7 separate regions of the Homo sapiens genome follow, and regions 2, 3, 4, 5, 6 and 7 are each linked to region 1. Evidence: promoter capture Hi-C in 16 types of primary human blood cells and fetal thymus (Javierre and others, 2016). All regions are on one chromosome and are shown on one strand. The core of a region is centred on a gene start or on the middle of the fragment in contact, and the rest is flanking DNA. Distances in the headings are between cores, read along the strand shown.

Region 1 (4,090 bases), core at 783-3,282:
CTACTGTTATTACCACTGTTCCATATTATCCTCTTTTTTAAATCCTGGTAAAGGTAGCTTAATTGCAGCTTTCAAAAAACGAAGAGAAAAATGACAGTCGTTAAATCAGGATTATATAGAAAACTAATATTATTACTAAACTGGCTGCAGAATTCAGTATGATCTAACCTTGCACGTTTCCAAAAGATTCAGTCAGAGAATCTTTGCCTTGGACGGATACTCCATAGGAGAAAACAGGAGAAAGTTGACACTTAACTCCCACAGAGTACCAGCATAAAGACAATGGCTTTAAGAGTCTGACTCAGAGTTTCAACATGAAAGGTTTGCTTTATAGAGGAAACGCCAATCCCAGTCCATCCAGATAGACCTGGAACCTGATGAAAGTCGACACCTTTATTCTGAAATTTGCATCACATCGCTGGCTCCAGTTTAGAAACATGATCGTTTCACAGGTAGTATGCATTTCAGCGAATGCTGCCTCTAAACTACCCGTCAGGAAAAATAAAATCTATAAGGTAATCGTAGTCTAGGAGCCATCAATCCCCAAATGCTTCTCTTAGAAAACGAATGCCAACAATTTAGCTAAACATCTTCCTTGGAAGTGAGCCATTTCCCATGTCTCTCTGTTCTCCAAACCGCGATGAAATTTCAACCTGCCCAACACGATTACTGGTCCACCTAGAAATGCCGTGGAGCGATTTAAGAGCCTCGGAAATTTCCTTTAAGGTCAGGAGAGAAGCTGGTAACAGATGGGGCGAAGGAGGAAAAGTTCTTTTTGCGGCACCCTCACGCCTTCCCAGCCCTTTCGCGGTTTACTCGCTCCCCGGAAAGCAGGTTAGAGCATCCCAAAATTTCATGTCCCCAAGACCCCCAAAGGGGAAATTAACCACCCTCGGGCACCGAGCTGTTCGTCTCCATTTCCCACAACTCAACCAACTCGGCCTGCCTACTCCAGCTCAGGCTGCAAAGCGCTCACCCAGGTGACTGGAGGGGAAGGGTCGCCAGGTGGCGACCAGCTCAGCGGGGTGGACGCAACCGCCCGGACCGGGACGCGGGTCTCCTGGCCTCCCGCAGAGACGCCTGCCCAGTAGTTGTGCAGATTCGGGTTCTGGGGTGCGTGCGCGCGCGCCGGGCGCGGTGAAGCCGGACTCGCCCCCGCCGGGCTAAGCTACCAGCAAGCCACCAAATCGAAAATCAAACTTTAACCGGCCTCCTGGGGTCCTGCTCCGGGCCCTGGACCCCAACCCCGGCCAGAAACAGGGCAGGGGGCTGTCAGCCGTCCTGCACCCCCGCTCCCCCCAGGACCCGGGCGCGGGGACCACTTACCGCTCGGCCCGGCCTCCCGGTGCCGCCGCGCGTCCCGGGCGCGTCCGCCGCGCGCTCTCCCTGGGGAGAAAGAGAAACCGTGTAGACGGCCGGCGCGCGCTCACTCGCCGCCTCCTCTGCGGAGAGCGGCGAGGCCGGCCCGAGGCGGGCGCCGAGCGCGGAGCGGAGGGGGGCCCGAGGGAGGCGGGGGTGGAATCAGCCCAATTCCCGAGGCTGGCTCCGAGGGGGACCCGGAATACAGGCTGGCGGGGGGCCGGCGGGGGCCGAGCTCCCGGAGGAGGGGAAGGCGGAGGTGGCCCCGTCCTTGGGCATCAACTATTGTCTAGGCGCCCGGGCCCCCGCTCGCGCCGTCCCCGAGGCTCAGCGCCCCCATCCCGCCCGCCAGCAGAAAGAACTGAGGGGGCGGCCAGTACGGGAAGCAAGTGCGGGGGTCCGGGCTCCGAAGGTCCAAGGTGGGCGCGAGGTTGCCGGGGGGGGGATGAGGAGGTGCGTACCGCATGGGGGAGGGGACAGGTAAGTGCGGACGGGGGCGGGAAGGCCCCAACGACCGGTGGGGGAGGAAATGGGGAGGGAGCCACAGAGGCGGGAGGGAATGGAGTGGCTGCGGGGGCGGCCTCTGGGGCCCAGACCTGGCCCTCCCCGGGGACCCTCCAGCCGGGGACTCGGCGCTGCACTGACTTTTCGCTCACTCGCTCACGCACGCACTGAACTCGCTCACAAAGTTGCCGGCAGTGGCGGCGCCTCACTCGCCCTTCCCCTCCCCGCCCCGCCTCCCGCCCCATTCCTTCCCCTCCTTCACTCCTCCCTCTCCCCCAAGTCTCGGGTGAGATCACCACGGAGCGGCTTAGCGCGGCGCACAAGTCTCGCGAGAGAAGCGGCGGCTGGGCCCTGCAGGCGGAGGAAGTGGAAAAAGTCGCGGGAGGGTAGGGGACCGCGGAACTTCTGGTTGCTATGACGACGGCAAAGCCCTGGATTCCTGTCTCCTGCGGAGAGCAGAGGCTGCAAACGTGGGTGCAGTTTTCAACCTGCCCGGCGCACTGGCGGTGGGGAAAGCTAGGGGTGGTTGCGGAAGGATAATTTTTAAGCCGATTCAAGAGGGCATCTCGAGAGGACCACAGTCATGATATCTGGCCAAATTTGGCAAATGAGACTAATGTATTAAGAGGTTCTGGGACAGGTTTCTGCCTTTCTAGGCAGCACATATCTGCACCCCAAATTTCTACTATATATTCAGTTTTTCGGCCTTCTCTTTCAATCTAATTCCTCCATCCCCACACTCCCCATGCTGCCTCCCTCCTCCTCTTCTCAACTCGCAAACACACGCAGACTGGGCTCCTTCAGGAACTGGCTCATTCATCTCTGTATTCTCAGCGCCTCTATAGGCTTGGTCCATACTACATATTGGCCACTTTTTTGACAAGTTGAACGCAACAGTCCATGCCTGTCCTCAGTACTTGCCTTTGGCCCTAACCTAGAGAGTTCAGTCAAGTTTGGACTCTATCAAGCTACCCTCCCATTTCTGTTAACACCTTGTCTTTTTCAATGGTAATAATCTCTGCTTTCTCCATATTTTTCTCGTAAAAACCCTATTCACCATGGTGAGGGGAACTTTTTTTTTAATCATTAGGCATCCGCAGACGCCTTTATACGTACTCCAAAATGCTAGTAAGGATGAAGATGAACTCTCCTCAGCCCGTGTCTTTTAACTGTAGAAACTTTTCTGAGGTGAGGGTTATTATATACTCACTGCCTAAGTAAAATGGATATTATGAATAGAAGTTAAACTTTAGATTTCAAAATGAATGAGTAAAAATAGATACCATTGTATGTGGATTATATCTCAATTTTTAAAATTCCTATCCATGAACATGGGGAAACCATTATTTAACTCAGTCCCACAGAACTAGAAACCTAAAGCATAACCTAAGCATATGAGGACTAGGCAGTCAAAACTTGTAAGTCACTTGCAAGTTTAAATCCTGTCAATGAAAGTTTGTGTATTAGAAACCTAAGTGATACTAGACAAAGTCAGCAAACTAGGGTTTACGTTTTTCTGTGCCACTAATAATTGAGTCTCCTTGAGAAGTTATTTAATCTCTCTGATTCTTCATCTGTGGGGGGTACCCCACATGTTAGGTTATTACAGCTTTAAAATTCTATAGCTGGCCGGCATGGTGGCTCACATGCATAATCCCAGCACTTTGGGAGGCCCAGGTGGGAAGACTGCTTGAAGCCAGGAGTTTGAGACTATCCTGGGCAACATAGAGAGACCCTGTATCTACAAAAATAAAAAATATTAGCTAGGTATACTGACATGCACCTGTAGTCCCAGCTATTCAGGAGGCCGAGGCTTGAGAATCACTTGAGCCCAGGAGTTAAAGGCTGCAGTGACCTCTGATCACACCACTGCACTCCAGCCTGAGCAACACAGTGAGATCCTGCATCTAAATATATATACACATATGTATGTGTGAGTATATATATATATATATATATATATATAATTTAATATAAGAGCTCTTAGACCTATAAAATTTTCCAATAAATAACAAATCTTCCTTTTACAGCAAATGATAAAAAAAGTTTCATCTTATAGTAGGTCAGTTTCACAAAGAGTAGCTATATGTTGACAATTTTCTTTAAATGTTGACAATTTTATTTTAAAATTTATCTTGTCCCAACTACAAAAACAACAAAAATATTGACCATGTTACAGTAATTTCAAAGGTAATCTATAGTTCATGATTTGCTTTTACACTAACTC
Region 2 (4,090 bases), core at 775-3,274, 460 kb before region 1:
GTGGAGGCTTGGCCGGGCGCGGTGGCTCACGCCTGTAATCCCAGCACTTTAGGAGGCAGAGGCAGGCGGATCATGAGGTCAGGAGATCGAGACCATCCTGGCTAACACAGTGAAACCCCGCCTCTACTAAAAATACAAAAAATTAGCCGGGCATGGTGGCGGGTGCCTGTAGTCCCAGCTACTTGGGAGGCTGAGGCAGGAGAATGGCGTGAACCCGGGAGGTGGAGCTTGCAGTGAGCCGAGATTGTGCCACTGCACTCCAACCTGGGTGACAGAGCGAGACTCCGTCTCAAAAAAAAAAAAGAAAGGTGGAGGCTTAGTTAGCAAACTCCACAATGTAAACAAAGAACCTGTGCTAGCAGAGGGATTGGTGGTTTTAATGAAAGCTAGGAGGTTGGAGACAAATGCGACTGCTGAAGAGGCGGCTTCTGCCCTTCCTGTCTGATGTGTCTTCAGTATTGGAAGCAGATGCATCAGGCTGTGGGTTTGATGACAGTAACCACTGAAGTCAACCAACTACCCCACCTTGTCCTGAAATTGGCTCCCAAAGCAGCCTTTTGTTTGTAATTCATGGTTGCAAATGAGAAATGTTCTGGCAGGTTTGTCTTACACAATGATTTTTAAAACTTTTATAAATTAGTTGCTAATATTTATAAATCAGGAAATGACTCCTATAAATCTGAATCTCCAACTTCTGAAAAATCAGAAGGTCTGGCCACATCAAACCCTGAGTAGCAAGAATTAGGTGGAGATTATATTGGCTGCATATTTTAGAAGGGGAATAGAGTCCCCTGTTCAGCCCACTCCCAACAACTCCCTTTCACCTCACACCTGCTCAATTCATTTCTTTACCTACCTTGCTTCATAGGCATTTTCAGTTTTCTATCCCTCCAGAGAGCCAACGTGCTAATTAGCTGATATAGTATGTTGACTGTTATGTTTCTTGCTCCAAATTAGTGAATTGTTACTGAGGCTTTTGCATTTGTGTCTTGTCAGTTTGACTAGTGTGAGTCAGTACTTTGGGCCTCTTCACCTCTGAACACACAAACCAAAATCAAATGTATGGACCTGCTCAGGCTGAGGCTCAGGCTCTGCCTGACTTCCCAAGAGATCCGCTCTCAGCTGACGCTAACTATTCTCTGATTAGCACTCTTCAACTTACCAATTGTCTTCATGGATTCCTCAAAGCACAGAGAACAAACTGTCAAACAATGTCTGAAGGGCAGCACAATCATTCACCAGCTGAGTTGCAAATAAGACACTGACCCAGTTAATCTGTGAACCTACTGCAGAAGCTTGGGAAAGCTCTGCTGGTTTATGATTGTCCTTGAAGGACTCAGGCTTAGATGTCGCCTCTTTGTCTTGCGCATAACAAAGGCCAATGGAAATTGCTATCGACAGACTCATTCCTGCCTTGGTTCCCTTGCCATCTCTTTGTGGCTTCCTTCATTAGCTCTTTTTTCTTCTCAGAGAAAGTCCATGACCTTGGAGGTCTGCATTTCCTTTCTGAATCTGCGCCATCACCGCTGTAATGGAATGAGTGTGTCTTTCTGCTACCCCAGGATCTGTGGCCAAACAGAAACCACAGATGCCCTCTCAGCTTGTCGCCTATCTTTCTTGTTTCATCTCAGCTGGAAAGGGTCTTTGCAATTCACACTTTTTTTTCCTCTTCTCACATCAGAGCAAAAGCAAACATTAATTTAAAGAGCATCTTTTTATAATAAGAAAAACCTTCGACTTTCAACACAACCAGAAAGGAAGCCATTTGTCCATGCCGAGAATGAGCTATCAGCATGTGCTCAGTATTACTTCTCCACTGGGGGTGATAGATACACACTGAGCCATCTGTACTTCTCCACCAGTTCTCAGGACCAATGCTTGGCATTTGCAAGTCACATTAGGAGGATTATTTGTGGCCAGACACTGAAGCTAACAGGTTTAAGGACAGACTAAACCCTTGGCTTCATTACTGTTGCTCCAACCACTACAGTGACTAGCCCAGACATCCATGCACCTTCACAGGCAAAATATCTCAGTCACTTCTCTTTTTCTTTACAGTAAGAAAATAAATATGAGGCCAGGCACGGTGGGTCACACCTGTAATCCCAGCACTTTGGGAGGCCGAGGAGGGCGGATCATTTGAGGTCAGGAGTTCGAGACCAGCCTGGCCAACATGGTGAAACCCTATCTCTACTAAAAATATAAATATTAGCTGGGCATGGTGGCACACGCTAGTAATCCCAGCTACTCAGGAGACTGAGGTAGAAGAATCACTTTAACCCAGGAGGCGGAGTTTGCAGTGAGCTGAGATGGAGCCACCGCACTCCAACCTGGACAACACAGCGAGACTCTGTCTCAAAAAAAAAAAAAAAAAGAAAAAAGAAAAGAAATATTGAAAATGATATACTCTTCTTTGTGTAGAAAATAACCTTGTATTGTATTCTACAAGTGGGAGGTAGAAATGTCTGCAGTGTGTACTGCTATGTTAATAGATTTTTCTGACAATGTCAGGTTGATTATCCACCTAAGGTATGGTCTATAAATCTGCTTACTGCCCATCCTTCCCCTGGAGAAGCCTAAGAATAAAAGGAGCTTGAAGAAAGCAGCTCTCAACAGCCTCAGGGAACTGCTACTTTGCTTACATTTCTATGGCTCTTCCTGAGTCCCCATGTGTGAAGTCTTTATTTCTTAGATATGCTTGGGACACAGCCATTGCCTTATTTGCTCAAAAGGCTCAGGACCAAGAAGCTTAAGAAAAGTCAAGGAACTCGTAGTTAAAAGGAAGTTGGAAGTTTTCTCTGAGCCCTTGTGACCTTGAGATCCATAAAGGAGTTAAATGTCCATTTGTCTGAAAGGTAAGAATTTAAATGTCTTTGACTTCAGAAAATTAGATGTGCCTTCACATCTTTTCATAAGTAACTTCACAGCTGTAGAAACCTCTAAAGAGAGATAACATACGTTTCCCTTCTCTTCAAAATGTCCACACAAAGGTTCTTCTTCCATGGTTTGAAATTTCTCAAATCTTCACCTTTCCATTTGAAAGTGAGTATGACCAGGTTATCCAAAAACAGGGAAGCATATGGGTAGGACCACTCAGACCTGATCCCCACTTTCCAGTGTGAACCCCAAATATCCGAGACAGGTCTCAGTTAATTTAGAAAGTTTATTTTGCCAAGGTTGAGGATGCACGCCTGTGACACAGCCTCAGGAGGTCCTGACGATGTGTGCCCAAGGTGGTCAGAGCACAGTTTGGTTTTATACATTTTAGGGAGACATGAAACATCAATCAAGATATGAAAGATGAACATTGGTTCAGTCTGGAAAGGCAGGACAACTCGAAGCAGGAAGGGGGCTTCCAGGTCATAGATAGGTGAGAGACAAACAGTTGCATTCTTTTGAGTTTCTGATTAGCCTCTCCAAAGAAGGCAACCAGATATGCATTTATCTCAGTGAGCAGAGGGGTGACTTTGAATAGAATGGGAGGCAGGTTCCCAGCTTGAATTTTCCCTTTATCTTAGTGATTTGGGGGGGCCAAGATTTATTTTCCTTTCACACCAGGATGAGACAAGGGAGCATCTCTTAAAGCTAGAAAGAGCTAGCTTGGTAGCAAATAGAAGATTGAAACTCTAGAAATATAGTAGGTGCTGAAATCAATAGAAATGAATGATTGAAATAATAACCAAGCCAATAACAAACAGGTGAACAAATAAACATCTGGAACTCCGGATTCCAGGAGAAGCATGTGGAAAACCATCAATCCCAAAGGGTTTTCATCTTTTGTCCTCCACACTCAGAATCCTGCACAGAAGACCAACTTCAGGTGTCTGACCATTCCCATTTCTATTGCTAGCTGTGAATCCACCTTTCTCTCCCACACCAAGGCTCATGTCTGTGTTACAGTCTCGCCAATGCACCACAATGTAGCAGTCTGTCATTGCCTGAGGTAGTATCCAGAGTTCTTTGTCTCATGACCAAGAAAGTTAAGGAGCATGGACGCCAAGGGTGAGGTTGGAGCAAAGTTTAAAAAGCAAAAGAAGAAATTTCTCTGCTGCGAAGAAGAGACCTGGAAGAGGGTTGCTGTTTTTACAGT
Region 3 (4,090 bases), core at 610-3,109, 440 kb before region 1:
GACTCTTTAATCCCCCAGACAGCCTCAGAATTCAGAAAATGTTTCATGGGGGAACCTAGACATGTATTTGAGGCTCTGAAAATCCCTGCTTTGGGAAGCCCAACCCAACAGGACCACTCAGACTTTTGCTGATTTTACTGTATACCCCATACCCACCCAAGCAGGTGGTCTCTGCTGGAGTCAAGCTCTGATCCTTAGCCCAGCCCAGAATCAGAGAATGCCCTAGGGGGAAATAACAGGTAGGCATTGTCCACTTATCTCTGGACAGTTCTATCCCTTCCTGAAAATTTAGTCCATTTATCCTTGTATTATAGCTTCTGTAACTCTCTGGTGCCATTAAAAATATGACCTTTGTAATGTATCCGCTTTTTAAACTTTTTCTCAATGGACGAGTTAGCCTTCCATGACCTATCCAAAAGCATCTGGATTCACAGGTTTGGCTACGCCCATGGGTAAACCACTGCACACCCCCAAAATATATACACACGCTCTATTCCCTCACTTTGCTATATTTTCCCTTACTGGATTCTTCATTTATATAAATATTGATGGCATACCCTGATCATCCAGTTTTTGCCACTCCCCTCACCCAGTTCTCTACTAAGAATCTGTGTTCCAGTGGGGGACAGGCATTCAAGAGCTGGATCCCCCTGTGTCTGGTGGGACAGGGTTCACTGCCTGCACTGCAGAACTGGAAAGCCTCTGTCACCCTGAACACGCCAAGTGTACCTACCTGCCTGAAAGGGGTGGGATTCATGGCTTTAGAACTAGAATAGGAAAAGTTTTTTGTTTTTACCCAGACCATTTAGGAAAAGATTTAAGTAAAGAGCTGGCCAGGCACGGTGGCTCACACCTGCAATCCCAACACTTTGGGAGGCCAAAGCAAGAGGATCACTTGAGCCCAGGAGTTGGAGACCAGCCTGGGCAACATAAGGAGACAATATCCCTACAAAAAGAAATTTTTTTTTAGCTAGCCAGGCATGGTGGTGCATACCTATGATCCCAGCTAGGGAGGCTTGAGCCTGGGAGGTTGAAGCTGAAGCAAGCCTTGACTGCACCACTGTTATCTAGCCTGGATGATGGAGCAAGACCCTGTCTCAAAAAAACAAACAACAAAAAAGATTTAAGCAAAGACTTGTGGTTCAAATTTTGGCCCTTGTGTCTCAAATGAATGAGGTTTGAGTGAAATATATATATATATATATATATATATATATTTTTTTTTTTTTTTTGAGATAGGGTCTCACTTTGTCACCAAGGCTGGAGTGCAGTAGCATGATCTCAGCTCACTGCAACCTCTGCCTCCCAAGCTCAAGCAGTCATCCTACCTCAGCCTCCCAATTAGCTGGGATGACAGGTGTGCACCACCACACCCAGCTAGTTTTTTGTGCTTTTGGTAGAGATGACGTTTCACCACGTTGCTCGGCTGGTCTCGAACTCCTGAGCTCAGGCGATCCACCCACCTTGGCCTCCCGAAGTGCTGGGATTACAGGTGTGAGCTGCCGCCCCCGGCCTGAAATATTTTTTTAATGGGAGATTTCAGTTCATCTCTCCACCCCAAAAAATCTAGATTTCTGTTGTTTCTTTACCAAGTGGTCCAGTAACCGGGCTCTGTTTCACATGGCAGCATTCAGCTGCAGATGCCACTCTAGGTGGGACATGTCCTCTCCAGAGGGGCCTGGGGCAAGGCAGGTGAGGGACCCAGGTGCTAAATGCCTGTGGTCTTGCTCTCAGAGCCATGCAAGCACATCGTCGGCTTTTGCACCTCCAGGAGCGAATGCCTCCTACAAGTTCACACAGCGGCCTCCCTCGAGGCCCAGCTCTGCTCTCCAGTGTCTCGCCTGTTTAACTCCCTTGTGACTGCAGCCTGCCTGGCCCCTGTGGGCACGGACAAAGCTGAATGAGCGACTCAGGCTCCTGCAAGCCAGAAGTCAATGGTGGCCCCTAGCACACACCTGCTCCTCTTGTCACAACAGCAGATACGGTAACTCAGAAAAGCTCATTCTGCAAACTTCCTGCTTTCCTTCACTGCTGCTTAAATGTAGTGTTTATATTATTGTAATTAAAAACAACTTCATTATCCAGTGGGAGAGTAATTCTGTGCCCCTTTACAGCATTCTGAGTCTTCCCTATATGGCTCAAATATGCCTCAAACAAGAAACCAGTTGCTAGGGGACCAGCAGGCAAACTTCAAGAGACAGGTGGTTTCTGCCTTTTCTCTCAACTTCTCTATCCAATCCCAGCCCAGGCCAGCCTATCGGTACATTTAGAAAAAAGAAAAATAGAAAACACACACACCGCCCCTCTTCCATAACTTCAAAGGAGACTTTGCATGTGTTATTAGGGAAATCACGAAAGTGGTTTTGAACACAGAATAAAATATGATGACAACGTTTAAACTTGTACCCGTTAACTCTGCTGTCTGGCTTCTTTAGGACACCAGCATGATGTGCTGGTAGAGAAACTCGTATGATATTGTAAGGGCTTTTTTCCTTTTTCATTTCATGTTCCTTCTGCTGGAAATATGAGGGTGGTAGGTTGGACCACAGAAAGAAACCTAAAAAAAAAATTAAAGAACCAAAAATTATTCTATACTAAATTTGCAATGTAAAGCATCGACTTGGTTGGTCAGATAGCCTGTATCTTTTAAAAGATATGGAAGTTCAATTAAATAATAAAAACATTAAAATATTCACAAAGAAAATATGCAACACCAATAAGAGATTATAAAATGTCATGTGCCGCAGGCATGTCTAATTTGTTCTTTTAGTGGCAGGCAGTAAACACGATGTTGAGAAATTTAGATTCGGTCTCTAAGTTGGCAGAAGTCCCTTAGAATAGCACCGTTGTGAACAGGAACCCCCCCAGCATCCTGGGCTAAGGATACTGTGATCTTTTCAGCATTTCCTGAAGTTTTCTGTCTGGAATAGGCTGACCCTGGTATTATCCTGGGACCTCTTCTTTATGCCTGAAATAGCCAGAAAGACTGAAGGCTCAGTCCAGCTTGTGAAGACCAAAATGCTTACTATTTAGCCCTCTATATAAACACCTCTGCTTTAAATCAACACCCAAAGTTGAGATGTTTTTTAGTTCTTCACTTAAAAATATTTTTTACAATATTTGTAAAACCAATTAACTACCTTCACTATTTTCAATGCCCTTGTTTTCTTCTGGTAGTTCAGTGATGTATACATAATACATGTTAGTGATTCAATGTGTCTTTTATCTCTAGAATGATCTAGTTGATTTGGATATATTATATGCATGATTTCTTTTCTCACTGTATTACTCATAACAATCTTGTTCTGAATTCTCCATTCTGGAAAGGGACTATTTCTTTAATTTTCAGCCTGTTTCAGCCATTTTCGCATCAAATTTCAAAATTATTTCTAGTAAGTTTTAAGATTATTCCTTGTTTTCTGTAAATATTCTGTAAATAATCTGTGGTTATCATCAAAAACATCACTTACTTAGCTAAACATTGAACACATAATATTATTTCAGGCCTTCACACCTATTTCCTTGTCTTTGTTGAAACCTTTGACCTTGGCTGTTTATCAAGTCTTCCTTTGTCAGTTTAGTAATGGTGTGAGTGCTTTTTTGATATGCAAGCCTGCTCACTTTTATTAGTGTTTCCACTTGTTAAAAATGTATGCAGTCAGCTGGGCGCAGTGGTTCACGCCTGTAATCCCAGCACTTTGGGAGGCTGAGGTGTGCGGATCACAAGGTAAGGAGTTCAAGATCATCCTGGCTAACATGGTGAAACCCGGTCTCTACTAAAAATACAAAAAAAAAAAAATAGCTGGGCGTGGTGGCGGGCACCTGTAATCCCAGCTACTTGGGAGGCTAAGGCAGGAGAATCTCTTGAACCTGGGAAGTGAAGGTTGCAGTGAGCTGAGATCGCGCCACTGCACTCCAGCCTGGGTGACAAAGCGAGACTCCGCCTAAAAAAAAAAAAAAAAAAAAAAAAAAAAGCATGCAGTCCATTTCTCTGAAGATTTTCTTTCTTTTCTCTTTTCAATCTTTTTTATTTTCAGAGCTCCACTGCCATATTTTCTATTTTTATTATTTTGACTTATTCACATATTAT
Region 4 (4,090 bases), core at 724-3,223, 410 kb before region 1:
GGAAAACAGAAAAGTCGGTCTCTGCATAAATAGAAGTTGTAAAGTCCCTGCTCCTGACTGAGAAGCCCTTAGGACCTCAGTTATTGCCTACTTTTCACCTTCATACCATCTTAACCATCCTGGTGATTTAGCTTTCCAACACACAGACGTGAAGCAGCACACTGGGAGCCACTAGGACTCAGCAAGCGCATGTATAAGCATGACCATCAGCAACACTGCGAAAGAGACTGAAAACCCAGACTGCAGGACTACACAGCACAGAGCACAGGAATACTTAGAGCAAATGGTCTCTCCTACCTGCCCCAACTGGCCCTGAGGGCATAAATGTATTATGACATTAAATAATAATGAATATTCATCATTATGGCCGTATAAGTCATCAAGAATAGTTTAATTATGTCTACAGTATTCAGTTACAAAGCGTTCTGACTAAAATGTAAAGTGTCTAGCCCTGCAGTGATCAGCTTCACTCAGCTACTCCGTGTGGCTTCCATCTCTTCTCCCCACAGATGCAGTCAGTGGCAGATGTGACACAAGGTGCAGAGTACTGCCCTTGCACTGGGACCAACCTGCTGTAAGGCTTCATCTGGGCCAGAGCCTGGTCCTCCAGCTGATCACTGTTGGATGCAGCACTCAAGGGGCGATGGTTTTCATCACTAGCAGCAAAAAATGAGGCTCTCTGGACTGGAAAGGAGAGAAGAAACCATTTAGTATTTTGGAACCACATCCCTGGCCCTATCTATCAAAGTCAACAAGTGGTCTAGTTGGCAGTCATGTCTAGTATTTCCAGTGCAGGATGCACTGGAAATCTTATTTCCCAACCCTCACAGGGAAAAATATGACTGTTTTAGCTATAAGAGGATTGTAGCCATGTAATTTCCCTTTAAGAAACATTTGTGAGTCAATTTCTAGTCCCCCCTCTTCCCTGCTCATCACTGTAGCATTCTATGAAATGTTTCTCTGGAAACAGTCCTTGTGCCAAATTTCCAGACCAAGGCTTTCCACTCAGCAATGAAATAAATGCGTTCGAGAGCTAGCATTATGCTTAAAACTTCTTGAAGTATGTTTTCCACCACAAGATTCCTGGACACTCTGGTTGGCTTTAACATAAATCCATACCACCTGTATTCCAAAACATACCAAGTTAAAATTTAAGCCAAGAAAACTAAATCAAATTTAAAATAATCTCCCATTAGAAACCAAAACTTCTACCATTTGTATATGAAGGAGATTAACCAACACACTGAAAAATCAAGTTAGAACTGGGAATTTCCATCTGCTAAATAAACAGCATGAAGGTAAAAGGATTCACTGCTGACCATTCCATGGTTGCCCGACGTACAGATTCTGTGGCCTAGTACATTTCTCCCCAAAATTAAAACTTGACTAAATAGCAATTTTCAATTCTCCTAATTAAGAGCAACAACAACAACAAAAACAGAAAAAAAAATCACCTGCTATAAGTTTGTAAAGAATAATAAAAATTTTAGAAAGATCTTTAAACTTAGAAAAAAGTCAGTCTTCATTCAAAAAACAAAAACCCCAGCTGACAATCTTATGTCAACACACACATACTGCACTACTTTTTGTGTTTTCATTACAGCAGGCAAGATCAGCACCAGTCTGAGGACCTGCATTTAAGAACCGCCAGCCTAAAGCGAGCACACGGCCAGCAGGCTGGCAAGGAGACAATGCAGACAGACAACGCGCTACCGCGCACGGAGATGAGGGAGAACGGCAAAGGGGGCGCCCCACATTTGTGAGGATAGGCGCGTGGCCAAGCAGGGCAGGCACTGTGACATTTAGCAACAATGTCTTGCGACGTGATGAAAGATCCTCTCTGGATACATGTTCTTTTTAGTCAAGGGACAGCTGGGATTCCTCTACCCATTGCCCTTCCCATATACGGAGGAGGCGAGGCATTCATGTTATGAATCCTGTGGAGGAAACACCAGGTGGCATCTGATTACATAAAACATGTGCCTAGGTGTCCAGCTTAGGGTCTGGTCCCTACTGAATGCTCAGTAACTGATAGCTCATCTGGTGAGGCACATATGTTTTGAGTGTGTCCAGAGAAGTAGAGTGGATGGAGACTGCTCACTCCGCTGCAGGATCCTGGGCTGTCTTGTGTGGATTCAGTGGACTCACCCTCATAGGCTTTGGCAGCATCTACCAGGTTGGACCAATCCAAGTCTGCAGCAGTGTCAGGCAGGGGCATCAGGCCAGGGTCGGGCATAGGCTGCCTGCGGGTCTCCTGGATGTCAGTGAGGGAGCTGTCCGAGGCTGAGAACTCTCCTGCGGGAAGGGAGGAGGAATGAGATGCTTCTTGTGCCTGTGGAAGAGCCACTCAAAACTTACCTCTTTCCTGTTACCACAATAGATTGTAAGCCATTTGTGACTGTTATCAATGTCCAGGTTAGCAGGCTGTTAGTGGCTATTCTAAAGCTGACTTGAAATAGGAATCGGCTTCCTCTAGTCTGCCTTCATTTTTTCACAACCTCCCATCATCTCCCTTCCAGCAGTGAGTCATGGCAAAGTTAGTTTTGCATGGAGGCACTAAGTCTGCTTTTGTGAGAGCTGTCTGTCCACAGCAGGGCCTAGGCAGCACTAGCATCTACTTTCCTGCACAGAGTCAAGGGATTTGGGCCAGGAAGAAGAGGCCTACTTCAACAGGGAGCTGGATTTTGGAGCCAGACCAGGGATGTTTCTTCCTACTAGAGGGGACAATAGGGCTTATTTTTTTATTTTTTGAGACATATTCTCACTCTGTAGCCCAGGCTGGAGTGCAGTGGCATGATCTCGGCTCATTGCAACCTCTGCCTCCAGGGTTCAAGCAATTCTCCTGCTTCAGCCTCCCAAGTAGCTAGGACTAAAGGTATGTGCCACCATGCCCGGCTAATTTTTGTATTTTTAGTAGAGACGGGGTTTCACTATGTTGGCCAGGCTGGTCTTGAACTCCTGACCTCGTAATCCGCCTGCCTCAGCCTCCCAAAGTGCTAGGATTACAGGCGTGAGCCACCACGCCCAGTTTAATAGGGTTTATTTTTATCTGGCCCGGGAGTGGTAAGGGACAGAAGGCCCATGCCTGCCCTCTCTGCTGTTGAGGGGCAGCCCACTGGGTTCCATGGTCAAAGGTGTCCAAGGGGGTGTGAGGGGCACATCAAGGGATGTGAGTGTGCTGGGTTACTCAGACAGAGCTAAGACAGGAAGGTGATTTTAGGGGTGGAACTGGCATTATTCTTCTCTAGGATGCAGTCATCACACGAGCTATTCTTTGGACCAATTTTGGGTTGCAGCAGTCTAACATCCCAAGCTCTTCCTAAGGGGACATTTTGTTGAATACAAATATTAAACCATTGTAACAACAAACTGACATATTAACAACTAAGATCTGCTTGGCAGGGAGGACTGGGCAGAGTGAGCCACCCTGAACACTGAAGGCAGCTCCTATTGCTCAGGTTCATGCAGGCAGATAACAGGAAGGGCGGGCTGCTGGGGTCCAGGGGAAACGACGCTCATGACATAGAAATGCCCTCAGTAGGCAGAAGCTGGGTGGAAGCCAGGGCAGAGCACACCACTCCACGAGAAGGAGCACCCTTGGAAGGTGACTGCGACACTCAGGTCCATGCAAACACACAGCTAAAGCTAAATGCTCAGCTAGAATATTTAAGTGACTCCAGAAAGACCTGTTTACCAGGAGTTAAAGATTTTCATGTATTATGACAGCCCGGTAAGCCAGTGTATTAAATGCTTTGTTTTCCCTTTCAAATTACGAAAAGAACTTCTCTGAAGTACAGCTGCTGGTTATTACTGTGCTCAAAATTAGCAAAATCATGAGTAAATGGAAGTTAACAAACACTGCAAGATATTAAATGTTCAGTTCTACTTAAATGTGCTCCTACCAAGGGTAAGTAGGAGGGGAGATAATTCTGTGTGTAACTCACAACCCTTCTGCCCTTTTATCTCTGGGGCCCGAATTTCCATGTGGGGGATAAAAGAAGTCACCCTTCCTCATCCCCCAAACACATTTCAGTGGAAGTCACCAAGCAAGGCAGGGCTGAGGGATCAGCCCAATGAGGACTGCCTGGTT
Region 5 (4,090 bases), core at 1,124-3,623, 400 kb before region 1:
CCTGGGTGACAAAATGAGACTCTATCTCAAAAAAATAAAAAGAAGAGGAAAAAAAAAAGCAAAGATTCTGAATATCCAAAATTGGAAACAATCCAAATGTTCATCAACAGTATAGTGGACAAATGAGCTGCTATATTCTCACACTGTAACTATAACATAGCCATGGAGAAAAGCTAATGTTACCTGCAACACATGGATAAATCTTAGCAACATAATGTTGACTTAAAGACACAGGGCACAAATTAATGCAGATAGTATGATTCTATTTATATTATATAAAGTCCCAAAACAGACAAAATAAGGCTATTATTTTCTTAATTTTTGTTTTTGCTTTTGAGACAGGGTCTTGCTCCATTGCTCAGGCTAGAGTGCAGTGGTGCAATCATAGCTCACTATAGCCTCAGCCTCCTGGGCTTAAGCGATCCTTCCACCTTAGCCCCCCAAGTAGCCAGGACTACAAGTGCTCACTGCCACACCTGGCTTTCACATGTATTCTTAAAAGGATAACTGGTTAAATAAGATCAACCCCGATCCTTGGTTTTATCTATGAACACAATGGGCTGACACTAGCTCCCAGGTGTGAAATGCCAGTGCACTTCTTTTCACTAGTGGTTCTAATTGAGACAGCCCCATTTAATTGATTAGATTTAGGCACAAAGGTTATGAGAGAAACAAATGAACAATTCACTGGTATGGCTTTCTTCTTTAATGCACACAACTCACAGCATGAAGCTGTGCACTTCAGTACACAGGGCCTCTAATTCAGTGGGCCTGTGAGCGTCACCTGGGAGCTCTTCTAAAGCATACTTTCTTGTGTCCCAATCCTAGATATTTAATTTAGTAAAGGAGGAATGATGCCTGGAAGATTAGGTAAAATGTCCTCCAAGTGTTCACACCAACTGAGGCCTACTGCTCACTCTCATCCAGTTGAATTACACACATTGTTATGACGGTCAAAATCCAGTTCCATATTGTCTAGGTGAAGAAGGTGAAGTCGCGGCAGCAGTGTTTCTCAAGCCACAGAACATGGCCACCTGTAGGTACTGATGTAACTGGGGAATCCTGGGCTTGTGTTAGATCTTCCAGAGCCCCAGAAATCTGTATTTTAACACACTTCCAAAGTATTCTCATGTTTTTTTGGGTTGAAGAAATACTGCATTAGCCCCTCAACTCCTCCCACTCTAAAATGAGTCTGTCTCTGGGCACAGCTGTGGGTGGGCTCCTTGCAGCTGACCAACCCACTGGCCTGAGACTGCGTCAAGGGATGTGCACCCATACACTTCACCTAAGAATCTCTGAAGTAGATTAAATTACAATACAACTACCATGAAGCTATCAGCTTCATAATTTTTAAGGGGAGCTGTGTGGCTGGGCTCTTTCATTATCCTGGAAATTTCATGTTAATTTAATAGGCTGCAATTTCATTTTACTCACAGAGAGTTAAATCTTGTCATAGGAATTACGTAAGAAGGGAATGAACCAATAATATCTAACAAAAGGAAAAGAGCATTAGATGTAACAGGAAATAATAACTGCAATATGTTACTTTTCTCAATGTATAAGAAGTGAGTTTAACTGAGTATGGCCAAATTGGAATCACTAGAAATTTACTCAAGTTGTCTCTAAATTCTACATGAAGAAACTACTAACTTTAATTTTTCTATAAGCTATAGGGCATTTCTCCTTTCCTAAAAAGGAACAACCTTAGATTCTGTCTGGTCATGTCAGGATATTAATTTTGAAAAGGAAGAGAGGATACACAAGTACATGATACCCCATATAAAAGAGGTCGGGCGCAGTGGCTCACACCTGTAATCCCAGCACTTTGGGAGGCCGAGGTGGGTGGATCATGAGGTCAGGAAATTGAGACCATCCTGGCCAACAAGGTAAAACCCCGTCTCTACTAAAATACAAGAAATTAGCCGGGCGTGAAGGCATGCACCTGTAGTCCCAGCTACTCGGGAGGCTGAGGCAAGGGAATCACTTGAACCTGGGCGGCAGAGGTTGCAGTGAGCCAAGATCGTGCTACTGCACTCCAGCCTGGCAAGAGAGCCAGACTGTTTCAAAAAGAAGAGAGGTAGTGAGGTCACCGAGGATCTGGGACAGCCTGAATCTGTCCAAACTTCTCATCTTGACCTGATGCTCAAATGAAACCATGGATCACGTGTACAGCAACCTGGTGATTTTACATTCCCAGCTGTGGCGAAGCTTTATAGGAGGGGATGCTAGATGACCAATCTGCAAAAAAGATGCTACTCTCAGCGGGTGCTGCTTTAAGGAGGACCTACATCTATTTGCTGACTTTGCCAAGCGATGAGCCACACAGGATTGGGAAGCCTGAATGTCATCAGTCAAGGCCCAGAGTGCTGAACCTATGAGGCCTGGGGAGACCACTGTGAATTCCTGCATCGTCACTGAGATCATCATATCCTGTGAAAAACATCTGCCAGCCACTGTCTGTGTTGTAGAAAGCTGCTGATGGGAAAACTTGGAGTCATCTACTATTTAGGAATGGCAAGGGGGTTTTAGACAAGCTTGGCCTGCTAAAGATGGTATTTTCAGGAAGCAGAGAGAAGCAATTAGTCACCTGTCAAATGGCTGTGGCAAAATCTGGGCAATGGCTGAATGCTGGTCTAATACCAAGGAGAGGAGAGCTGATCGGGTTTCCTGTGATTGCTTGTACAAATAACAAGCCTTTGGGTGACAGATAATGTGGAGGATAATGATTAAGGAGGACTCCTCCCACTGTGTTCAGCACTAGCCAGTTCTGTACTCTATCCAATAGAGTACCGTACGGAACACAATTTAGAAGACACTAATTCCAAAGGACTGGGGGAAAACAAGTGAAGTAGGGATGATTAAGTTGACAAAGAAGATATCCAAGTGACTGCAGTAAAGAAAAATTGTCCATCTATAAAAGGCAGAAATTTAACAGTATAAGGGCATATTAATACATACAGCATAGGGAAATGAGTGGCCAGCTATATGCAGCAGTAGAAGCCTCAGGGATCACCGTGGACCACAAGCTGAAAAGCCTGTAACGCTAAGCTATTTAATAAGGGGCTAACAAGATATCTATGAACATTATCATTTTATTGGGCATAGCTGAGAAGAGTGTCATGTCCAAGTTTTGCATCTAAAAAGGATAAAGAAAACAAAGCCAGATGCTTGAGAAGAGAAAATATGATTATAGGATGAAACACACAAAGTGTAGTTATAAGAGCTGTGGGAGATACCTGCTTGTTAAAAGAAAAGTCACTAGAAAATTGTTAAGGCAGGTGATGAAGAGCTTACAAAAGGAAATGACAAAAAACCTTTGGTCTTAAAATGACATTTACAGTTTGCAATACATTTGATAATCTTTTTTATTTTCAACAGACATGTAAAAACAGCCATTTAGTAGGTGGAACAGGATTTTGGTTTGGTGGTACTAGGCTATGCTAATGTGTATGACATGGCACATTACCAGCTGCAGGCTTTATCCATTAGCCACTGAGTTTCTGACCTGCTGTCTATTGTGTAGAATCTGAACAAGCTGACTGCTGAAATGCAGTTTGCTGGCCAGTGAACTGAAAGATGCAATAGTAAGCCATCTTCATTTGTCACCATGTGCTTGTATCTGTTTAATTTGTGCACCTTAAAATCCTATGGTGTATTCCATGGCCAATATGCCATCTCCTAGATTACAGATGAGGGACAAGCCAGGTGAAATGGTACAACTGGCCACAGGCCACATAGCTGACCAATGGTAGAACTGAGACTTGAACCAGGGTCTCAGGCTCCAAATCTATTTTCCTTATGTTCCTCTCCCAACTTGCCTGGGGGTAGAGAGCTATACCAAATTTTCCTTCTTTCTTTTTTTGCAAATGACCACGTTATAGTCAATAATCTATATCCAATAACTAGGTTAAGGCAAGCAGGGCCAACACATGTTCTCAGAATCTTAGATGTCAAAAATCTTCATGTTTAGAAAACACTCAGCTCATAAAAAGACATTTATTCTCTCTTAATTGTGTATTTGAGCTGTAGCTAGAGGAATGGAATTAAATATTGAAAAGGGAGAGGACTTATTATATACTGAAATTATTTA
Region 6 (4,090 bases), core at 667-3,166, 340 kb before region 1:
TTTTTAAAAAAATCTGGCTATTAAAAAATGTAAAATTAATATGTAGCTTGCATTATAGTCCCATTGGACGGTACTGATTCAGACAAAGGCTTGAAAAGAAGAAACTCTCTTTAAAAGAAACTGCATAGCTTTCCACTCCCCAAACTTTGAAGTGCCCATTCAAAATGGGCTTAACTTTCTACCTGTCAAGTGGTATGAAATCCTTTGCATGAATCTAGTACATAGCATGTTTTAACTGCTCAGAGTATTTTCTAAATGCAAATAGTTATCCATCCCAATTATAGTCAATTGTTCTGTGCTTTCATTCTACAACTAACCAGAGCAGCTCTCAGACACCATTTCCTTGATAAGAGGTTTCAGATCTAGGTCTTCATTGTTGGGGGTTCTGCCCCAACCCTAGGAAACTACAGACCTCCCTGGTCTTGGGTGTTCACCTAGGCTCAGCACCTGAAAAGTTCTGGAACAGCCTCTGTGTTGGGAGCTCGGAGTGAAAAACCCAGCTTTCCCAGCATGTAAGAGAGGCGGCATAGCAGCGTGGTTAAGAGACTGGGCTCTAGAATCAAACTGACTGCATTCCTGTCTAATTCTGCTCAACACTAGCCAGCTAACCTGAGGCAAGTGACCTGGCTGAAATTTCATCATCTGAAAATGGAGATAAAAGCAGTACCTACCTCATAGGTTTTAAAGATTAAATGGGATATACATGTAAGATGTCTAGAATAGTTTGGGGCTTATAACAAGAGCTCAACCAATGCAGTTATTAGGATATGTGCAAGGATGGTGACAGCCAGCAGGAGACCAACATAACCTCTACTTGTTTTTTTTCCCTAAGCTACGCTTACTCTACTCCTAGAATTAATCTGCCTTACTCCTAGAAATATACAATTGTGGATCTCACAAACTGTCAATGTGCACAGGTCACTTTCTATGCAGGTAACATTTTTTAGGGATGGAAAGATACGCCAAATGTCCATATTTTGAAAGGAACTGATGCACATTAAAAACATCTTACAAATGCCAGAACATTACCCTTACACATTCTGGCACTACACCCCTATCGAGCTAGCGTGACAGGTCCCTATCTCCTTCAACTCCTAACTCTAGTATTCTTACAAGAAAGGTCTCTGCAGATAGAGGCCTGAATTCTGATACTCATGTGACTACGTCAACAAGTAACACTGAAACAATTTCAATAATGCTAAATAAAGTATAGAAGCGTTTCTAAGCTTGTAGTCAGAGTGCTAACGTGAATCAAGTAAGTCAGAGGCAAGGATTTAGGCTTCTTTAATAACAATGCTTTTCAAAAAATTAACTTCTCTTCCCTATTTATTATAATCGTTCTTCTCTGCTCTTGCCATGCCAAAAGAAAAATATAATTAGCAATATGAGTAATTAGTTGGTTGGTGACCAGATGGTATGGATGAAGGACATCACCTAAGAAGGAGGTGCAAATGGAAACGGCAGGTGTCTAACCAACATGCTTGGGTAATGTCAATGCCACCAGATTACATCATCATGTGAATTCAGCCATCCGCATGCATGGTTTAAAGACAAAAAGAAATAGTAATAGACTTCCCATTGCCACTTTAGAATGCAGAGCTGAATGGGGCCTCTATGCGATAACCAGCCAACATCCACAGAGCCCCTGCTGTGACACCCATACACACCTATAACAGACACTGTCAGAGCACGGATTGTGCACCCTGACGATGACGAAAACGTGCTGGAAGTGGGATCGGATGTTTTTTGGGCTGAATGGCTGTGCTCCAGGCTCTTGGAAAACAATTGTTACGATATCATTTCCAATGTGCCGCTTCCTCAGGAGCTACAAGAAAAAATAAGCAACCAACATAAATAACAATCATTTGCTTCCCCCGCCACCCCAATTCCCTTATATAGCTGTATTTAAAACATCCATTCCTAATCAGTACACATGAAGGTAGGTAATCTACACAGGTACTGTCAATGTTTTCACCTGCCTTATTCCCTCTAAGGAAGAACATAGAAACGAACATTCTGAAATTTGCATAAAAGATACAGCCATTCAAATAGATCTACCCAATATCTGGCATATTATGCCAGGTCCCAACATCACCAAACCCTCAGTTTCTATAACAACAGTGTTGTTCCATTTTCACATAAGAAAAACACGTGCCACAGGGAAGATTTTTAGAGATGAGAATGGCTGAAATAATTACAATGTAATTTATGTTCTGGTTTAACTGGCCTCATTGAAAGAAAATGTGGCTAAGGTGTTTTCTGATATATGTTTTGTGTCACAAGCTGGGCATGTAGAAAAGAATAATATTCCAGAATGTTGCAACAATTAAAAGCAGGTAAATTTCAGGTTTAAACAGCTTCTTTAACTGCAATGAAAGCTGCTTAGGGACACCCTCTGTTTCACATTCACTGGGTTTTGGATGGGTGGCTTTCAAACTCAGGCACCCCAAATCATCCTAGGTCAGTGCCTTTCAGCAGTTAATTCAATAGTGTAAAGGAAAACCAAACAAAATTTGTGTTTCTCAAACTTACTGTACGGAGGCTCTTAAAAAAGAAAAACAACTAAGTGTGACATTTATATAAACTATCCATTAGACATAAGCTTGTACTTACAAAACTTGTATTTAAAAAAATATTCTCTGGTGACATTAAGGCATACAAATTGCAAACCAGTAAAATCAGTGATCTAGTATTGGCTGCCAGGTGGGAGAAATAATAGCCTTTTAGATTAGGGTTGCAAATTGGGAGTTAGAATGTTCAGGAAATGCACTTTTAACCTCAGGAATTTGAAAGCATCCCAAATTGTCTTCTAATGAAGCAATTTATTTCTGAGTTCATTTCTAAATATGATATACAAACAGACGTTATGAAAATAAAGGCTGGTGTGTATTGATTGCTCTACAGAACATACCAATAATTAAAGATTATTAATCTACTCAAGATCTTGGACATACCAAAAACAAATACTATTTATCTACATGTTATGCCATTCCTGCATAAATGATGTCATTTTCTGTAATATTATTCATTCTTCAAAATATGGCTTGACATATAAAAATAAATGTCTTAATAAAGGACCCAAATAGAAACAAATCCATTTTTCCATCTTATACTACATATAATGAAAAATATTTTATTAAAAATATTTGCAAAAGAATTTTTAAAGATACATTTTTCCTGGTTTTTTTTTCCAAGCATAAAGTAATCTACATAGAGGAAAATAAATTTTTTGGCTAGAGAGTGAAAATTTTTTCATATGTTGCAGTACCAATTTCTTTCTCATTCTGATTTAAGACTGTAACATTTTTGCCTTGATTGGACTCCAAAATTAAATAATTGAGAGAGCTGCCATTTAAATGCCCACTTTCTCTGCCTACCACTTCAACTCATTTAGTTACAAATAATCAATCCAATCTTGTTAGTAAATTTTTTACCCTTACAAATCTCATCTTTCTCTTCTAAGTGATCAGGCAGAATAAGCCTTTATGCTCTCTTTAAGGATCATTTTGTTAATGTTCTTAAATTTTTTATCTACTGACTGGTCAGAATAAGTTTATTATGCCTTTCTTAGCATGGTGTTTTTCTTTCAAAGAGAGCTAAAATCTGGAATTTGCATAAAACAAATTATCAACAAAGTACAGATCAGGGAGTTTATCTTAAAACAGGTTTACTTCAGATTTATAGCTGATTCATTGCTTTGCTCTCTATTTTTTATTACACTGGCAATCATGAAAGGCAAAACTTTGTTACCTAGATTTGTGATTTAATCAAATGTAAACTGATAAAGTGTTAGATTAGATCAGTGTTTGGTTAACTTCTGTGAAAGAGGATGTGATTCATTCTGCAGCTGGCCTGTGCTCTGTTAGCACAACAATTGACAAAAACAAAAATCCATATCCATTTGAAGGTCAGAAGTAAAATTGGACTGCTCAAGTTTGTAATAGCTTTTAAAAGAAGTGTGTGTTAGCTCTCTGGTTCTTTTAAATTTCAATTTGCTACTATTTATTTTAAAATATTTTAAAAAATCAACTACCACATATTCCCTAAAACAATAGTGCCAGTTTCCAGTTTGCTCTGTAACAATCTGTCA
Region 7 (4,090 bases), core at 953-3,452, 320 kb before region 1:
TCATTGAGTTTCTTGGGTCTGCTTGCATCATATGTGGAAAATCTGGAACTATTTCCTCAACTACTTTTTCAGGTAGTTCCTAACTCCTCTGGGGTCTCCAATTATATGAATATTAGGTCAGGTGAAGTTGTCTCACAGTATATTGATGTTGGGTTTTTTGTTTTTTTTTTTTTGGCAATTGTTTCTATTGCTATGTCATCAAGTTCACTAATCCTTTCTTCGACAATGTCTAATCTGCTGTTAATTCTGTCCAGTGTACTTTTCAACTCAGATATTGTAGCTTTCATATCCATAAATACAAAGCTTTTCTTTTTCCAGATTTCTACTTAATGTTCAATCTTTCCTCCTGCTTCTTAAACATTAAAAAGACATCAGAGTCATTTTTGTGGTTTTAATTGTTTAATTATTTTATCCCCTCCCCAACTATAGGTCATATGCTCCTGCTTGTAGTTTTTAATTAAATGATTGACTGTCAGACATTATGAATATTACCTTGTTGGGTGCTGGATATTGTTGTATTCCTATAAAGTATTTTTGACTTTGTTCTGGATTCATAGTTAAATTACTTGGCAAGAGTTTGAGCCTTGTAGTTCTTGCTTTTAAACTCTTGGTTGTACGACAGCAGTGTTTAGTCTAAGGATAATTCTGCCCCACTATTGAGGCAAAAGCATTGTGAGGCTCTACTCAATGCCATGTCAATTATGAAGTTTTCCAGTCTGGTTTGTAGGAGTTGAAACTATTCGCACCAGAGGTAGACTGTTTACGGCTCTCTCCTCCCTGATTCTCTGTGCTCTGCGAATTCTAGCCTCCCTGGACTCACATCTCAATCTCAATCAGGGAGGCTTCTGGCCTTTAACTGGGTACCCCCTGCCTGTACTGTAGCCTGGAAACTCTCTTCAGGCAGAAAGCTGGTGCAATCTTAGGGTTCACCTCATTTGTTTCCCATCTCCCAAGCAATCAATGTCCTTCAATGCCTGATGTCCAACATTATAAAAACCATTGTTTCATTGTTTTGTCTAGTTTTTAAGTTGTTTCAGGTGGAAAGTTAAATGCAGTCCCTCTTACTTAATCTTAGCAAGAAGCAGAAATTTGCCTTCAGTTTTTAAATCAACTTTATTGATGTATGATTTCTGAAGAGTAAATGCAAGGCGTATAATTTAATAACTTCTGACAAACCCCCAACACAATCAAAATACAGAACACTGCCATTACCCCAATAGCTCCTGGTTCCTCTTTGCAGTCCATCCCTGCATCATCTAACAGCTTCAGGCAACCACTGTACTAATTTTGTTTTTTTTACTATAAATTAGTTTTGCCTACATTTTAAAGAAAATTTTTGGTGTAAAATCCATTGTGAGGGTTACTCTTTCAGCACTTTAGAAATGTCTTCTGCCTTCTACTTTTTTTGTTTGTTTTTGAGACGGAGTCTCGCTCTATCACCCAGGCTGGAGTGCAGTGGCTCCATCTCGGCTCACTGCAAGCTCCGCCTCCCAGGTTCACACCATTCTCCTGCCTCAGCCTCCAGAGTAGCTGGTACTACAGGAACCTGCCACCACACCCAGCTAATTTTTTTGTGTTTTTAGTAGAGATGGGGCTTCACTGTATTAGCCAGGATGGTCTCGATCTCCTGACCTCGTGATCTGCCCGCCTCGGCCTCCCAAAGTGCTGGGATTACAGGCATGAGCCACCACGCCCGGCCTCTACTTTTTCTTTAGGCTTTATAGCCCAGCAAATGTTTAACAGTCTTGTTGTTCTTTAAAGGTATTTTTCCATCTGGCTATTTTTAAAGATTTTTCTCTTTTTCTTTTATTTTCAGCAATTTTTACTATGAGCCTATATTTGATTTTTTTTTTTTTTTTAGATTATCTTGTTTAGGGTGGACAGAACTCCTTGTTTTTATCTTAATGCTTGTCTTTCATCAGTTCTGGAAATCTCTACCAGCATTTCCTCAAATACTGCTTTTATTCCCAAATAATGCATAAATATCTTCTCTTCTGGAAATTCAATCATATATATATTTTGCTGTTACCCACATGCCTTTCAGACATTTTTCTGTATTTTTCTATGTTTTCTTGTCTCCGTTCTTTAGTTAAAATTTTTCTGGTAATCTGTCTTCATCAGTTCTCTCTCCTACTGTGTCCAGTATGTTCTTAAACATATCTACTTTTAAATGAGTCTAACTTTAGGGGTTTTTTAGTTTTAGAGTTTCAATATAGGCTGGGTGTGGTGGCTCATGCCTGTAATCCCAGCACTTTGGAAGGCCAAGGCAGGTGGATCACTTGAGGTCAGGAGTTCGAGACCAGCTTGGCCAACACAGTGAAACCCCGTTTCTACTAAAAATACAAAAGTTAGCCGGGCGTAGGGGCACACACTTGTAATCCCAGCTCTGCGGGAGGCTGAGGCACAAGAATCACTTAAACTCAGGAGGCGGAGGTTGCAGTGAGCCAAGACTGCACCACTGCACTCCAGCCTGGGCAATAGTGTGAGACTCCGTCTCAAAGAAGAAGAAAAAAAATGAATTTCAATATAATTGTTTTACAGATTTGAGTTCTCTAGTAAGCCTTGAATTCAATTTGTAACCTCCAAAGCCCTATACAAGCTCTGATTTGATCTGATCACTGAAAGCTCTGATCTGTCTCCTAACTTTTTATCTGCTGCTTTATGCTAGATGGAAAAGCCCCAAGATTCTTAACCTATCAGCAAATGTCTAAGAGAAAAAGCACTGTAAGATATTGTTAATCTTGATAGACTACAATTTCTCAAATTTTTTTTTTCTTTCTAGATCAAGCTCTTGGTGCCACATCTAAGAATTCTTAACCAAGCTGAAGGTCCCAAAGATTTTCTCCTATGTTTTTCTCAAAAAAATTTAATACTTGTAGATTTCAATCTATGATCCATTTGAATTAATTGTTGATGCTTAAAAGTCAAGGTTTAGGCCGGGGGCCTGGTGGCTCACACCTGTAATCCCAGCACTTTGGGAGGCTGAGGTGGGCAGATCACTTGAGATCAGGAGTTTGAGACCAGCTTGGCCAACATGGTGAAACCCCGTCTCTACTAAAAATACAAAAATTAGCCGGGTGTGGTGGTATGCACCTGTAATTCCAGCTACTCGGGAGACTGAGGCACGAGAATTGCTTGAATCTGGGAGGCGGAGGTTGCAGTAAGCCAAGATCATGCCACTGCACTCCAGCCTGGGCAACAGAGCAAGACTCAGTCTCAAAAAAACAAAAAAACAAAAAAACCCAAAAAGTCAAGGTTCATTATTTTGTTTATGGATGTCCAGTTGTCCCAGTACTGTTGGAAAAGCCTATCCTTCCTCCACTGAATTACTTTTACACCTATGCCAAAAATGAGCTAGATATATTTGTGTGGGGCTATTTCTGGTTTCTCTATTCTGTTCCACCGATCCACATGTCTATCTTTCCAGCAATGCCACACAGTCTTGACTACTGGAGCTATATAACATGTCTTGAAATCAGACAGAATAACTTCTCCCACATTAATTCCTCTTTCTCAGATTGTTTTAGGTATTCCAGTTCCTTTGTTTTTTCATGTAAACTTTAGAATAATCTTGTCTATAACCACAAAAAAACCTTGGCGGAATTTTGATAAAAATTAAGAAGTTAAACTTTGTATCAGTTTGGAGAACACTGACATGATTAATATATGTTAACGCTCTCAATTTGTGAATATAGTATGCCTCTCCATTTATTTAGGTCTTTGGTTTCTTAGAGACAGGACTTAATCTGTCACCCAGGCTAGAGTGTAGCAGGATGATCATAGCTCATGGCAGCCTTGAAATCCTGGGCTCAAGCGATCCTCCTGCCTTAGCCTCCTGAGTAGTTGGAGCTACAAATGCACACCACCATGCCTGGTTAAATTTTTAAAATTTTTTTGCAGAAACAGGATCTCACTATGTTGCCCAGGCTGGCCTTGAACTATTGGATTCAAGCAATCCTCCTTCCTTGGCCTCTCAAAACGCTAGGATTACAGAAGTGAGCCATCATGCCCAACATTAGGGTTTTGATTCGTTCATCAGGGTTTTGTAGTTTTCAAAATACAAGTCCTATTCATGTTTTGTTAGATGCAT

The links. Contacts are between HindIII fragments. The CHiCAGO score rates a contact against its expected background, and 5 or more counts as called.
Region 2: a fragment that was not itself captured here is called in contact with the fragment with the promoter of SIPA1L1 in region 1 in 1 of 17 cell types (naive CD8 T cells); the score reaches 5.0 in naive CD8 T cells.
Region 3: a contact is called between a fragment that was not itself captured here and the fragment with the promoter of SIPA1L1 in region 1, in 13 of 17 cell types (neutrophils, naive CD8 T cells, fetal thymus and 10 more). The highest score is 23.1, in neutrophils.
Region 4: a contact is called between a fragment that was not itself captured here and the fragment with the promoter of SIPA1L1 in region 1, in 11 of 17 cell types (neutrophils, activated CD4 T cells, naive CD4 T cells and 8 more). The highest score is 24.0, in neutrophils.
Region 5: a contact is called between a fragment that was not itself captured here and the fragment with the promoter of SIPA1L1 in region 1, in 12 of 17 cell types (neutrophils, naive CD8 T cells, activated CD4 T cells and 9 more). The highest score is 17.7, in neutrophils.
Region 6: a fragment that was not itself captured here is called in contact with the fragment with the promoter of SIPA1L1 in region 1 in 12 of 17 cell types (neutrophils, activated CD4 T cells, total B cells and 9 more); the score reaches 20.3 in neutrophils.
Region 7: a contact is called between a fragment that was not itself captured here and the fragment with the promoter of SIPA1L1 in region 1, in 5 of 17 cell types (neutrophils, total B cells, monocytes and 2 more). The highest score is 16.8, in neutrophils.

Annotation. Positions count from the first base shown.
Region 1 is chr14:71,318,418-71,322,507 of GRCh38, reverse strand. It overlaps SIPA1L1 (signal induced proliferation associated 1 like 1), which reads right to left and starts at 2,032. Exons shown (of 24, transcript NM_001386936.1): 1 at 2,005-2,032; 2 at 1,327-1,386. It overlaps SIPA1L1-AS1 (SIPA1L1 antisense RNA 1), which reads left to right and starts at 660. Exons shown (of 4, transcript NR_184180.1): 1 at 660-834. RefSeq lists a silencer at 1,114-2,133 and an enhancer at 2,394-2,553. The HindIII fragment of the contact is 21,627 bases long and covers 1-4,090 here.
Region 2 is chr14:71,774,362-71,778,451 of GRCh38, reverse strand. No RefSeq gene overlaps it. Among named protein-coding and RNA genes, the nearest start is that of RGS6, 160 kb to the left of the region's middle. RefSeq lists an enhancer at 3,304-4,090. The HindIII fragment of the contact is 1,453 bases long and covers 1,298-2,750 here.
Region 3 is chr14:71,756,505-71,760,594 of GRCh38, reverse strand. No RefSeq gene overlaps it. Among named protein-coding and RNA genes, the nearest start is that of RGS6, 170 kb to the left of the region's middle. RefSeq lists an enhancer at 1,750-2,308. The HindIII fragment of the contact is 5,795 bases long and covers 1-4,090 here.
Region 4 is chr14:71,731,871-71,735,960 of GRCh38, reverse strand. It overlaps SIPA1L1 (signal induced proliferation associated 1 like 1), which reads right to left. Exons shown (of 24, transcript NM_001386936.1): 21 at 2,149-2,295; 22 at 570-684. It overlaps LOC124903342 (a long non-coding RNA gene), which reads left to right. Exons shown (of 3, transcript XR_007064259.1): 3 at 510-1,036. Among named protein-coding and RNA genes, the nearest start is that of RGS6, 200 kb to the left of the region's middle. The HindIII fragment of the contact is 8,106 bases long and covers 1-4,090 here.
Region 5 is chr14:71,714,895-71,718,984 of GRCh38, reverse strand. All of the region lies in intron 17 of SIPA1L1 (signal induced proliferation associated 1 like 1), which reads right to left. Among named protein-coding and RNA genes, the nearest start is that of RGS6, 220 kb to the left of the region's middle. The HindIII fragment of the contact is 326 bases long and covers 2,211-2,536 here.
Region 6 is chr14:71,659,045-71,663,134 of GRCh38, reverse strand. SIPA1L1 (signal induced proliferation associated 1 like 1) reads right to left here. Exons shown (of 24, transcript NM_001386936.1): 10 at 1,668-1,825. Among named protein-coding and RNA genes, the nearest start is that of SNORD56B, 260 kb to the right of the region's middle. The HindIII fragment of the contact is 1,376 bases long and covers 1,229-2,604 here.
Region 7 is chr14:71,639,050-71,643,139 of GRCh38, reverse strand. All of the region lies in intron 7 of SIPA1L1 (signal induced proliferation associated 1 like 1), which reads right to left. Among named protein-coding and RNA genes, the nearest start is that of SNORD56B, 240 kb to the right of the region's middle. The HindIII fragment of the contact is 3,794 bases long and covers 306-4,090 here.